Linked DNA regions of Homo sapiens: regions 1 and 3 are each linked to region 2. The links are contacts of gene promoters, found by promoter capture Hi-C in human tissues and cell types (Jung and others, 2019). All regions are on one chromosome and are shown on one strand. Each heading gives the region's core, a stretch centred on a gene start or on the middle of the fragment in contact. The rest is flanking DNA. Distances are from core to core; before and after follow the strand shown.

The links. Contacts are between HindIII fragments. The study calls those that stand out against the background at their distance.
Region 1: a contact is called between a fragment that was not itself captured here and the fragment with the promoter of EXOC3L1 in region 2, in 2 of the 25 tissues and cell types used here (dorsolateral prefrontal cortex and spleen).
Region 3: a fragment that was not itself captured here is called in contact with the fragment with the promoter of EXOC3L1 in region 2 in 2 of the 25 tissues and cell types used here (bladder and dorsolateral prefrontal cortex).

The regions. Positions count from the first base shown.
Region 1 is chr16:67,590,023-67,593,479 of GRCh38, reverse strand. The region is part of intron 2 of CTCF (CCCTC-binding factor); the gene reads right to left. Among named protein-coding and RNA genes, the nearest start is that of CTCF, 29 kb to the right of the region's middle. The HindIII fragment of the contact is 6,285 bases long and covers 1-3,457 here.
Region 2 is chr16:67,188,405-67,191,678 of GRCh38, reverse strand. EXOC3L1 (exocyst complex component 3 like 1) reads left to right here and starts at 1,543. Exons shown (of 14, transcript NM_178516.4): 1 at 1,543-1,708; 2 at 1,996-2,048; 3 at 2,499-2,659; 4 at 2,739-2,958. The coding sequence starts at 2,003. The HindIII fragment of the contact is 11,498 bases long and covers 1-2,590 here.
Region 3 is chr16:67,445,666-67,448,823 of GRCh38, reverse strand. The region is part of intron 2 of ATP6V0D1 (ATPase H+ transporting V0 subunit d1); the gene reads left to right. Among named protein-coding and RNA genes, the nearest start is that of HSD11B2, 16 kb to the right of the region's middle. RefSeq lists an enhancer at 1,069-1,568. The HindIII fragment of the contact is 4,026 bases long and covers 1-3,158 here.

The DNA.
Region 1 (3,457 bases), core at 13-2,512, 400 kb before region 2:
TATCCTAAGCGAATTAAGGCAGGAACAGAAAACCAAGTATCTCATGTTCTCACTTACAAGTGGAAGCTACACACTGGGTACACATGGACATAAACATAACAATAGGCCTTAGGGATTAGGAGGGGGAGGGAGAAAACGGGGTAAGGGCTGCAAAACTAATCATTGGGTACTATGCTCATTACCTGGGTGATGAGCAACAATTGTACCCCCAAACCTCATAATCACACAATATACCCATGTACACAAAAAAACTTGGACATGTACCCCCGAATCTAAAATAAAAGTTGAAATTGTAAAAAATTTTAAGAGAACAGAAGATACCTTGCACCTTTCTCTTTATATGTATAAAATATATATTAAAAACCATATATTAAAATATAAAAAAGATATACAAATATATAAATATAAAATATATATTAAACATTTATACATATATATATAAATTTTTTTTTTCCAGATGGAGTTTCACTCTGTCACCCAGGCTGGAATGCAGTGGCGCGATCTCGGCTCACTGCAACCCCTGCCTCCAGGTTCAACCGATTCTCCTGCCTCAGCCTCCTAAGTAGCTGGGACTACAGGCACATGCCACTGTGCCCCGCTAATTTTTGTATTTTTAGTAGAGACGGGGTTTCACCATGTTGGCCAGGCTGGTCTCAAACTCCTGAGCTCAAGTGATCCACCCACCTCGGCCTCCCAAAGTGCTGAGATTACTGACGTTGAGCCAGTCACCAACGCCTGGCCTCTGTAAGTATCTTTTTTTGATGTTGTTGTTTTTGAGACGGAGTCTCACTCTGTCACCCAGGCTGCAGTGCAGTGGCACGATCTTGGCTCACTGCGACTTCCGCCTCCTGGGCTCAAATAATTCTAATGTCTCAGCCTCCCGAGTGGCTGGGACTACAGGCGCATGCCACCATGCCGGCTAATTTTTATATTTTTAGTAGAGACAGGGTTTCACCATACTGGTCAGGATGGTCTCAAACTTCTGAGCTCTGGTGATCCTCCCACCTCAGCCTCCTAAATTACTGGGATTACAGGCATGAGCCACTGTGCCTGGCCTTATTTATTTTTTTAGACAGATTCTTGCTCTGCCACCCAGGCTGGAGCGCAGTGGCACAATCCCGGCCACTGCAACCTCTGCCTCCAGGGTTCAAGCAATTCTCCTGCCTCAGCCTCCTGAGCAGCTGGGATCACAGGCGTACACCACTATGCCCAGCAAATTTTTGTATTTTTAGTAGAGACAGGGTTTCACTATGTTGGCCAGGCTGGTCTCAAACTCCTGACCTCAGGTGATGTGCCCGCCTCATCCTCCCAAAGTGCTGGGTTTACAGGTGTGAGCCACTGCGTCCAGTCGATAGATCTTTACATTAGAAAAATGTTGACTGAAAAGCTTAGTCTGGTATTCTCACTATACAGAATGTTAAATGACATTAGGACAAGGAGGGGAAAAAAAGCAATTATAAGTCATCAGGTCGGGCACAGTGGCTCACACATATAATCCCAGTACTTGGGGAGGCAGAGCCAAGAGAATCGTTTGAGCCCAGGAGTTCAAGACCAGCCTGAGCAACATAGTGAGACCTTGTCTCCATTAAAAATTAAAAAAAAAATTAGCTAGGTATGATGGCATCCATCTGTAGTCCCAGCTACTCGGGACTGAGGCGGGAGGATCGCCTGAGCCCAGGCTGCAGTAAGCTATCATCACACCACTGCATTCCAGTCTGAGTGACAGCGCAAGACTCTGTGCCCTTACTGCCCCCCCCCAAAAAAAGTAATCAGTTTTTCCTGAGGATGAAAGGAAAAGCTAAGTAACTTTTACTAGATGCAGGACACTAGCCAAAACGAATAAAAGTTATTAACTCTTTTAGAGTAAAAGCTAGGTTTAAAAGTTAAACAAAATAACCATTTTACTCTGCTATTCCTGAAAACATATACGCCATCATCTTATCTGAGAGCTTAAAATACATCAAAGCAAAGTATCAGTGAACTAGTACCAGGAAAGTTGTAGACTACAATAAAGAATGAGGAGGAGTTGAATTGGGAGAATAACTTGGGCTGAGAAGCAGAAAAATAATAGTGACCATTTCTTTCACAGTGACTGGGAACGGAAGCAGCCTTTATCTGAAAAAGCACTCATCTATTTAATCACAACTGTACCTCTCACTTCTCTGACATTAATTTTCATTTATTTTTTGAGACAGAGTCTCGCTCTGTCACCCAGGCTGGAGTGCAGTGGTGAGATCTTGGCTCACTGCAATCTCTGCCTCCTGTGTTCAAGCAATTCTCAGCCTCAGCCTCCTGAGTAGCTGGGATTACAGGCACGCATCACCACGACTAGCTAATTTTTGTATTTTTCGTAGAGATGGGGTTTCATCATGTTGGCTAGGCTAGTCTCAAACTCCTGACCTCAAGTGATCTGCCCGCCTCGGCCTCCCAAAGTGCTGGGATTACGGTGGCTCACGCCTGTAATCACAGCATTTGTGTGAGCCACCCAGTCCAGCATTTTTTTTTTTTTTTTTTTTTTTGAGACAGAGTCTCACTCTGTCATCCAGGCTGGAGTGCAATGGTGCCATCTCAGCTTACTGCAACCTCCACCTCCCGGGTTCAAGCGATTCTCCCGCCTCAGCCTCCCAAGTAGCTGGGATTGATTACAGGCACCAAACATCATGTCCGGCTAATATTTGTATTTTTAGTAGAGACAGGGTTTCGCCATGTTGGCCACGCTGGGCTTGAGCTTCTGACCTCAGCTGATCCACCCTCCTCAGCCTCCCAAAGTGCTAGGATTACAGGTGTGAGCCATCACACCTGGCCGATCACCGTGCTCGGCCAATTTTTAAAAGAACAGTTAGGGCCGGGCACGGTGGCTCACGCCTGTAATCCCAGCACTTTGGGAGGCCGAGGTGGGCAGATCACAAGGTCAGGAGATCGAGACCATCCTGGCTAACACAGTGAAACCCTGTCTCTACTAAAAAAATAAAAATAAAAAATTATAAAATAACAGGGCTTTTTGTATGTGTGTGTGTAGAAATAATTAAAAGGGAAATGAAAATGTTTCTTCTAAGTTAAAAAAAAAGTTAAGAGCATTCTAGTATTTTGTTAACAATCTCCCCTCCCATTTGTTAATATTAAAGGGTATGGTCAAAACAAAACAATTATTCTAACAGCTACTTGAAGAAAGCCCACTGAAGCTTTGAATCTAGGAAATACGTACTAATAAAATATTTGTAATGGCAACAGTGAAACTAGTATGGGAGGAGGGGAAGGAGTTCTTTTGCTACAAAGAATAATAAAGGCTAGACAATAATTCTTTCGCCAAAAGGTGGCTGACGCTGCTGTAGAAAGGAACTCTCTTCTTTAAAAAAAAAAAAAAAAGTTCTAACTGTTCTTTTTCTTTTTTTGAGACGGAGTTTCGCTCTTGTTGACCAGTCTGGAGTGCAATGGCGCCATCTTGGCTCACTGCAAC
Region 2 (3,274 bases), core at 294-2,793:
TTCCTGCCAAACAGCAAGCACTAACTATATCTACCTTGTCCACCTTGTTCCACCCATGGTCCTAGCCTCATCTTTCGCTCGTCTTGTCCTCACAGTACAGTGCTCAGAGACTATGGGGTTATGAACACTTCAGCCAATGCAAACGTGTTTACCTATGTGTAAATATCAGTAAAGCACTCAGTCATTCCTGGCATGCAGGAATGTGTGATACGGTCATTTTGTAACTTTTAACATTGTTACTATTTATTATTGTTTCTTTTAGATCAGGTCCTCTGGGAAATGGGACTCGAGATAGGGTTTTGCAGCAAGTTTGTTGGGGATCCACACTTTTTTTTTTTGAGACAGGGTCTCACTCTGTTGCCCAGGCCGGAGTGCAGTGGCAAGATCAATGCCGTCTCAGCTTCCTGGGCCCAAGCGATTCTCCCACCTCAGCCTCCCAAGTAGCTGGGACCACAGGCATGCACCACCATGCCCGGCTCATTTATTTTTAGTTTTTTAGAGATGTGGGTCTCACTATATTGCCCAGGCTAGTCTTGAACTCGTGGGCTCAAGAGATCCTCCCACCTCAGCCTCCCAGAATGCTGGGATGACCGGTGTGAGCCACCGCACCTGGTCAGGATCCACACCTTTAAGGGATTAAGACAAGCAGAATTGAGCAGATGCAATTATATTATAGGCCTCAGCCTATCCCACTAGGATCTCTGAAATTGGGGTAGCACTTCTGAAGGGTTCATGTTCACACGATGGTACCATGCTTTTGCACCCCAATATTGACTGAGAGACTCAGTGGTGTGATCTCAGTAGCCTACACTCCTGGCAGCTGGAGAATGAGCACTTCTGTCCTGAAGGGTGGATTTGGGTGGTGGACTGAACATCCACTAAATAATTACCACCTTATAGTCCCTTCCCTGGCTCCCTATAACTCTCAAGATAAACACAGCTGCCCAGTTGCGGTGACTCACGCCTGTAATCTCCCAACACTTTGGGAGGCTGAGGCAGGCAGATCGCTTGAGCCCAGAAGGCTGCAGTGAGCTATGGTGGTGCCACTGTACTCCAGCCTTGGTGACAGATCAAGACCCTGTCTAAAACAAAAAAGATAAACACAGCTTTCATGACCCTCTCCTACCACCCCCCACCACACCCCTCTTCACAAGAGCCTGCCACCTCTCACTCCTCCGCAGAGGTACACATCCTCCTCAGAGGCTGGCCAACACAGTTTTCATCCTGTGCTGTTGATGTCGTCTGCATCCATATCTGCACACTCTGCCCACCACCCCAGGTTGAGGCCAAGTCTAGCAAATCCCTATCTCCTCTCCTGAGCACTAAGAGGTTCTGGGTAGGCTGGTCAAGACTGGTTGAGTACAAGTACACCCCACCCCCCCGCCCCTCAGGGAAGTGTCGCCCAGCTGTCCCCACCCTCTGTGCAGACACTCTTTCCTGTTGGGAATAAAATGCCAGAGACTCAGCTTCCTTCCTTTCTGTTGATGGCCTTGGGGAGGGAGGAGCCTCGGTGGGAAGAAGGGGCTTCTGGGTGGGGAGTGGGAGAGAGACTTCCTTGGGGAGAGGAATTCAGCTGCACGCTGGAGTCAGCTGGAGTTGCCCAGGCCCTGTGAGCAAGTGGCAGGCGTGCCCAGCTGCATTGGGGAGAGGGCTGTTCTCAAGGCCAAGGTCATTTTTGGAGGGAGAACTGGACGCCTGATCAAATCTGGTAAGTTCTGTACCAAACTGTCCTGTGCAGCTCAGAGCAGGACCAGGGTCCAGTGGAGGCCTGTGCCCACTCTGTCTCGCTTGACATCTGCAGGGGCACGACTGGGAAACCTAGCAGGCAAAGCCTCCCAGGTGCCCTCCGCATCACACCCGCTCCCTCTCACTTCCCGAGGGGGCCGGGAAGAACCTCCTTCCTCCTCTCAGAAGGGCTTAGACAGAGGCAGCAGCTCACAGGGGCATCTACTCTGCCTGCTTGCCCCGGGCCCACCTCAGCTCTGGCTCCTCCAGGCCCACAATGGACTCAGCAGCCAAGGATGAGATGCAGCCGGCGTTGTCCCCTGGTATGAACCTTTTGGGTGGACTAGGGGAGGAATGATGGCAACAAAGATGGGACTGGCTGGGCGCAGTGGCTCACGCCTGTAATCCCAACACTTTGGGAGGTCAAGATGGGCAGATGACCTGAGGTCAGGAGCTCCAAACCAACCTGGCCAACATAGTGAAACCCCGTCTCTACTAAAAATACAAAAACTAGCTGGGCGTGATGGCACGCGCCTGTAATCCCAGCTCCTCGGGAGACTGAGGCAGGAGAATCGCTTGAACCCGGGAGGCGGAGGTTACAGGGACCCGAGATTGCACCACTGCACTCCAGCCTGGGCAACAGAGCGAGACTCCATCTCAATAAACAAATAAACAAACAAATAAATAAATAAATAAATAAATAAGAAAGCTGGGACTGGGGTCGTTGGGCCCTCCTCCCTGACTACACGGCTGCCCAGGCTCTTCCTTCCCAGGACCTGAGTGGCCAGAGCAGGAGCGGGCAGAGCAGCTGGCCCGGGGTGCAGCGCTCAAGTGGGCCTCAGGCATCTTCTACCGGCCGGAGCAGCTGGCCAGGCTAGGCCAGTACCGCAGCCGCGAGGTGCAGCGTACCTGCTCCCTGGAATCGCGCCTCAAGGTGGGCATGGGGCAGGGGGTGCGGGTGCTGGGACTGTGCTGCAGGGCTGGCCCAGCCTCATGGCTCCATCTTTCCACAGTCAGTGATGCAGTCATACCTGGAAGGCGTGCAGACTGGTGTGTGGCAGCTGGCCCAGGCCATTGAGGTGGTGCAGGGAACCCGGGAGGCCCTGAGCCAGGCCCGTGGGTTGCTCCAGGGCATGTCCCAGGCCTTACAGACTCTAGAGCCCCTACGGGAGCGGGTTGCCCAGCACAAGCAACTGCAGGCCCTGTCTCACCTGCTGCCTCGGCTGCGGGCAGGTGAGCATGCAGGGACCCTGGGCCTCAGCCTCCAATAGTCAGTCCACAAACACCCATCCCTAATCAAGGGGCTGGGGCACTAGATGGGGAACTGCATAGAGCAGCACACCAGGGACCTCCCAGACAGTAGCCCGGGCTTCCCATGGCCTATGAGGCAGCTCATCCTGGGATTCCCACGTGTGGGATGCTTGAGTCAGGACAGACACCCAGTCATGTGACTCTGGCCACCTGGTTATCAGTATATTCAAACTCTTCCCTAACAGAGTGGCTGAGCGAGTACTGGCAGGACCCCCCGATTTCCCCTGCCTTCCCTCCA
Region 3 (3,158 bases), core at 404-2,903, 260 kb before region 2:
CTGGGGTCAAGCATGCAGGAGCTCCGTGAGGCCCAGAAGGCTCAGACCAGGTGGAAGGACCCAACTGGGCCTTGGGGAGAGGCAGGACTTTTATGAGCAGGTTAAAGCTCACTATCTCTGTTGGAGCCACACCTCACTCATATGCTTTTTTTTTTTTTTTTTTTGAGCTGGAGTCTCACTCTGTCGCACAGGCCAGAATGTAGTGGCACGTTCTCGGCTCACTGCAAGCTCCGCATCCCAGGTTCAAGTGAGTCTCCTGCCTCAGCCTCCAGAGCAGCTGGGATTACAGGTGTGCGCCACCACACCCGACTAATTTTTGTATTTTTAATAGAGACAGGATTTCACCATGTTGGCCAGGGTGGTCTCAAACTCCTGGCCTCAAGTGATCCGCCCTCCTCGGCCTCCCAAAGTGCTGGGATAACAGGCATGAGCCACAGCACCCACCCTCATCTTCTATTTATTTTATTTTTTGAGATAGGATCTTGCTCTGTTGCCCAGGCTGGAGTGCAGTGGCATGATCATAGCTCACCTGCAGCCTTGATCTCCTGGGCTCAAGTGATCCTCCTGCCTCAGCCTCCCAAGTGTCTGGTATTACAAGTGCATGCCACCACACCTGGCTAATTTTTTTGATTTTTTAATAGAAATGAGGTCTTGCTATGTTGCCCAGGCTGGCCTCAAACTCCTGAGCTAAGAGAGCCTCCCACCTCTGCCTCCCAAAGTGCTGGGATTACTGGTGTGAGCCACCATGCCTGGCCCTCACTCATCTTGATATGGAGGAGAAACTAAGTCTCGAGAGGTGGTGTGCTGAGGCCATGGACAGAGCTCAGAAACAGTGATATTTCTGTTCACTTTCCACTCTGCACAGGGCTCTTCAGGACCCAGAAGTGATTGAATACAGATACTGTCATTAGCAGCTCACTGGAGCACCTGCTGGGGACTGCAGTGGACAGGCTGGCAGGGTTACCCAGGCATCATGGCTGCCTCACCAGCACCAGACCAGCCACCCGGGGTTGAGAAGCCATATTGTTCCAGCAGGTGGCACCAAAGGGCGCAGCAGAGGGGCAGAGTTGGCTAGGGACTCTGAAGGCTTCTTGGAGGAAGTGGCTTCCTAAACTCCAACCCAAGATGTCTGTGGGCCCAAGCTGAGTTTTGAAGGCACAGGGCAAGGGAGGGCCTCTGGGCAGAGGAATACAGACGGCCCCACCCCCACCCCACAAGGGCCTCTTTGGCCTGGCGGGCAGCCGGCCCTCCACTCCCCAGCTGTCTTCCCCTGGAGGGAGATGCTGACCAGCTGGAACCTTATTCCCTCCTATTGAGGCCAAATGAGGGGAGGAATGGTGGAGTGGCTTTCTGGGGGCAGGGAGGCAGCTGCTGAAGCCAGGCAAGGAGGAAGAGGAGGATTTCCCTGCCTGCCGAAGGCCTCGGCCTTGGGAGAAAGGCAGACTGCTGGGCCAGCCTTATCTCTGCCAGGCCTGTCCAGCCTCTCATCTCCTGAAAAAGAGGATTCTGCCCCTCACTGGGCAGGAGAGAAAAGCAGGGCTGCAGCAGCAACAAGCTTATAGCCAGCCCGGCAAGGGAAGTGCTGGGCCTGGCACAGGATCGCCCACGATTGGCCTGGCTTGGGTTTGAAGAGGGCCTTGAAGGGGCTGGGGTAGTGCGATTGTGAGTGGCCCTTACTAGGCTCAGCATTTCCCCCACATAAACAGATGCCCTGAGTGGGGGGCGCAAGGAGGGGGACGTTGAAAAAGAGGAGATTGGCTGGTGGGGATCCCTCTGAGAAAATGAGACTAGGTGGGGTATGTAGAGCCAGGCAGGGGGCCCTGGTCATGGGTGGAGGTGTGTGGACATTGGCCATGGGGACGTGGAGCTCCTCTGCTTTGTGGTGTGTTAGGGCCTGGTGCTGGCCCTCTCTGGGCCTTATCTGCTCTGACAGTGGGGCTGGTAATGCTAGTGGTTGTGGGATCACTTGGATAAGGTGGGCCTTGGGTGTGCTTTTTCTCCCTCTTCCCGTCCGAAAGGGAGGGAGAGCATAAGAAAGCATCCTTCTGCTTGGGGGCAGGGGATTTGTGACTGTCTCAGGGAGCACCAAGGCTACATTGGGGCTGGATGGGGTGCAGTTAGAGTATTGCGGGGTGGCGCATATGCAGCATGGGTTCTGGGGTATGTGAGATGTTGGAGGCCTCATAGGCAGGAGGCGTGTGTGCTGTCCGGGGTAGAAAATATGCAGGCTGGAGCTGCAGACCATGGCCCAAAGCTCTGGCGAGCTCTGAGGTCCCTCACTCTGCCAGCACTGTGGGGTTGGGGGCAGGAGGCTGCCCATTTGGGCCTCTTGGCTTGCAGCTGCAAGTGGGCCCTGCTTAAGGCTCTCAGTTATGGTTGGGAGTTAGGGGACTGTCTCTTCTCAGTGCACATCCTGTAGCTGACCCAGCCAGATTGGGGGTGGAGAGAGGGCAGTTGCCTGGCTCCAGGCCCAGGAGAGCAAAGGTCTTCGCAGGGCGCCAGGCTGGGTGGGAGCTGGGGGAGTGCAGAGCAAGCAGGGGGAGTGGGGGTCAGGCCAGGACAGGAGCTGGGGCCTTTTCCTCCTGCCGCCTTTCTAGAGGGCCCTGTGGGAGCTCCCCCAGTGGCCAGTGCTTTGAGCCGTGGCCTGGGCCCTGGGCTGCCACCTCCCCTCCTTTCTTTCTTCAGTATGGGGGAAGACACCTCCTACCAAGGTCTTCTCTGGACAGCCTGAGCACTAGTTGCACAAGGTCCTGTCACAGGGCAGGGGCCTAGCTCTGGCCCACTCAGAAGCTAGGACAAGACCCGTGTTCAGTGCCCAGCTCAGAACAGCAGCCTCCACCCCAACTTTTATCCCATAGGTGCCTCACCTTGACCTTGGAGGAATTTCCCCTAGGCCTCATTTAGCTCCCTCATACCCTGAGTTCATCTTTGGTGACAGACTGGAGGATAGTTGTGGCTACTGCAGCCTAACTGTGGAATGGGGCTTACTGCCTTCACTGCATCCCCACACAGGTGACTACACAGAACTCTCTGCCCCAGCCCCTTTGTAGCTGGTTGGAGGCAGAGCCTTGTCCCTTGCCAAGTCTGAACTGGGCAGTCTCACCCCTCCCCAGCTCCACAGCCCCCTCTGCTGCCCATGTACCCCACAGAGCTGGCCT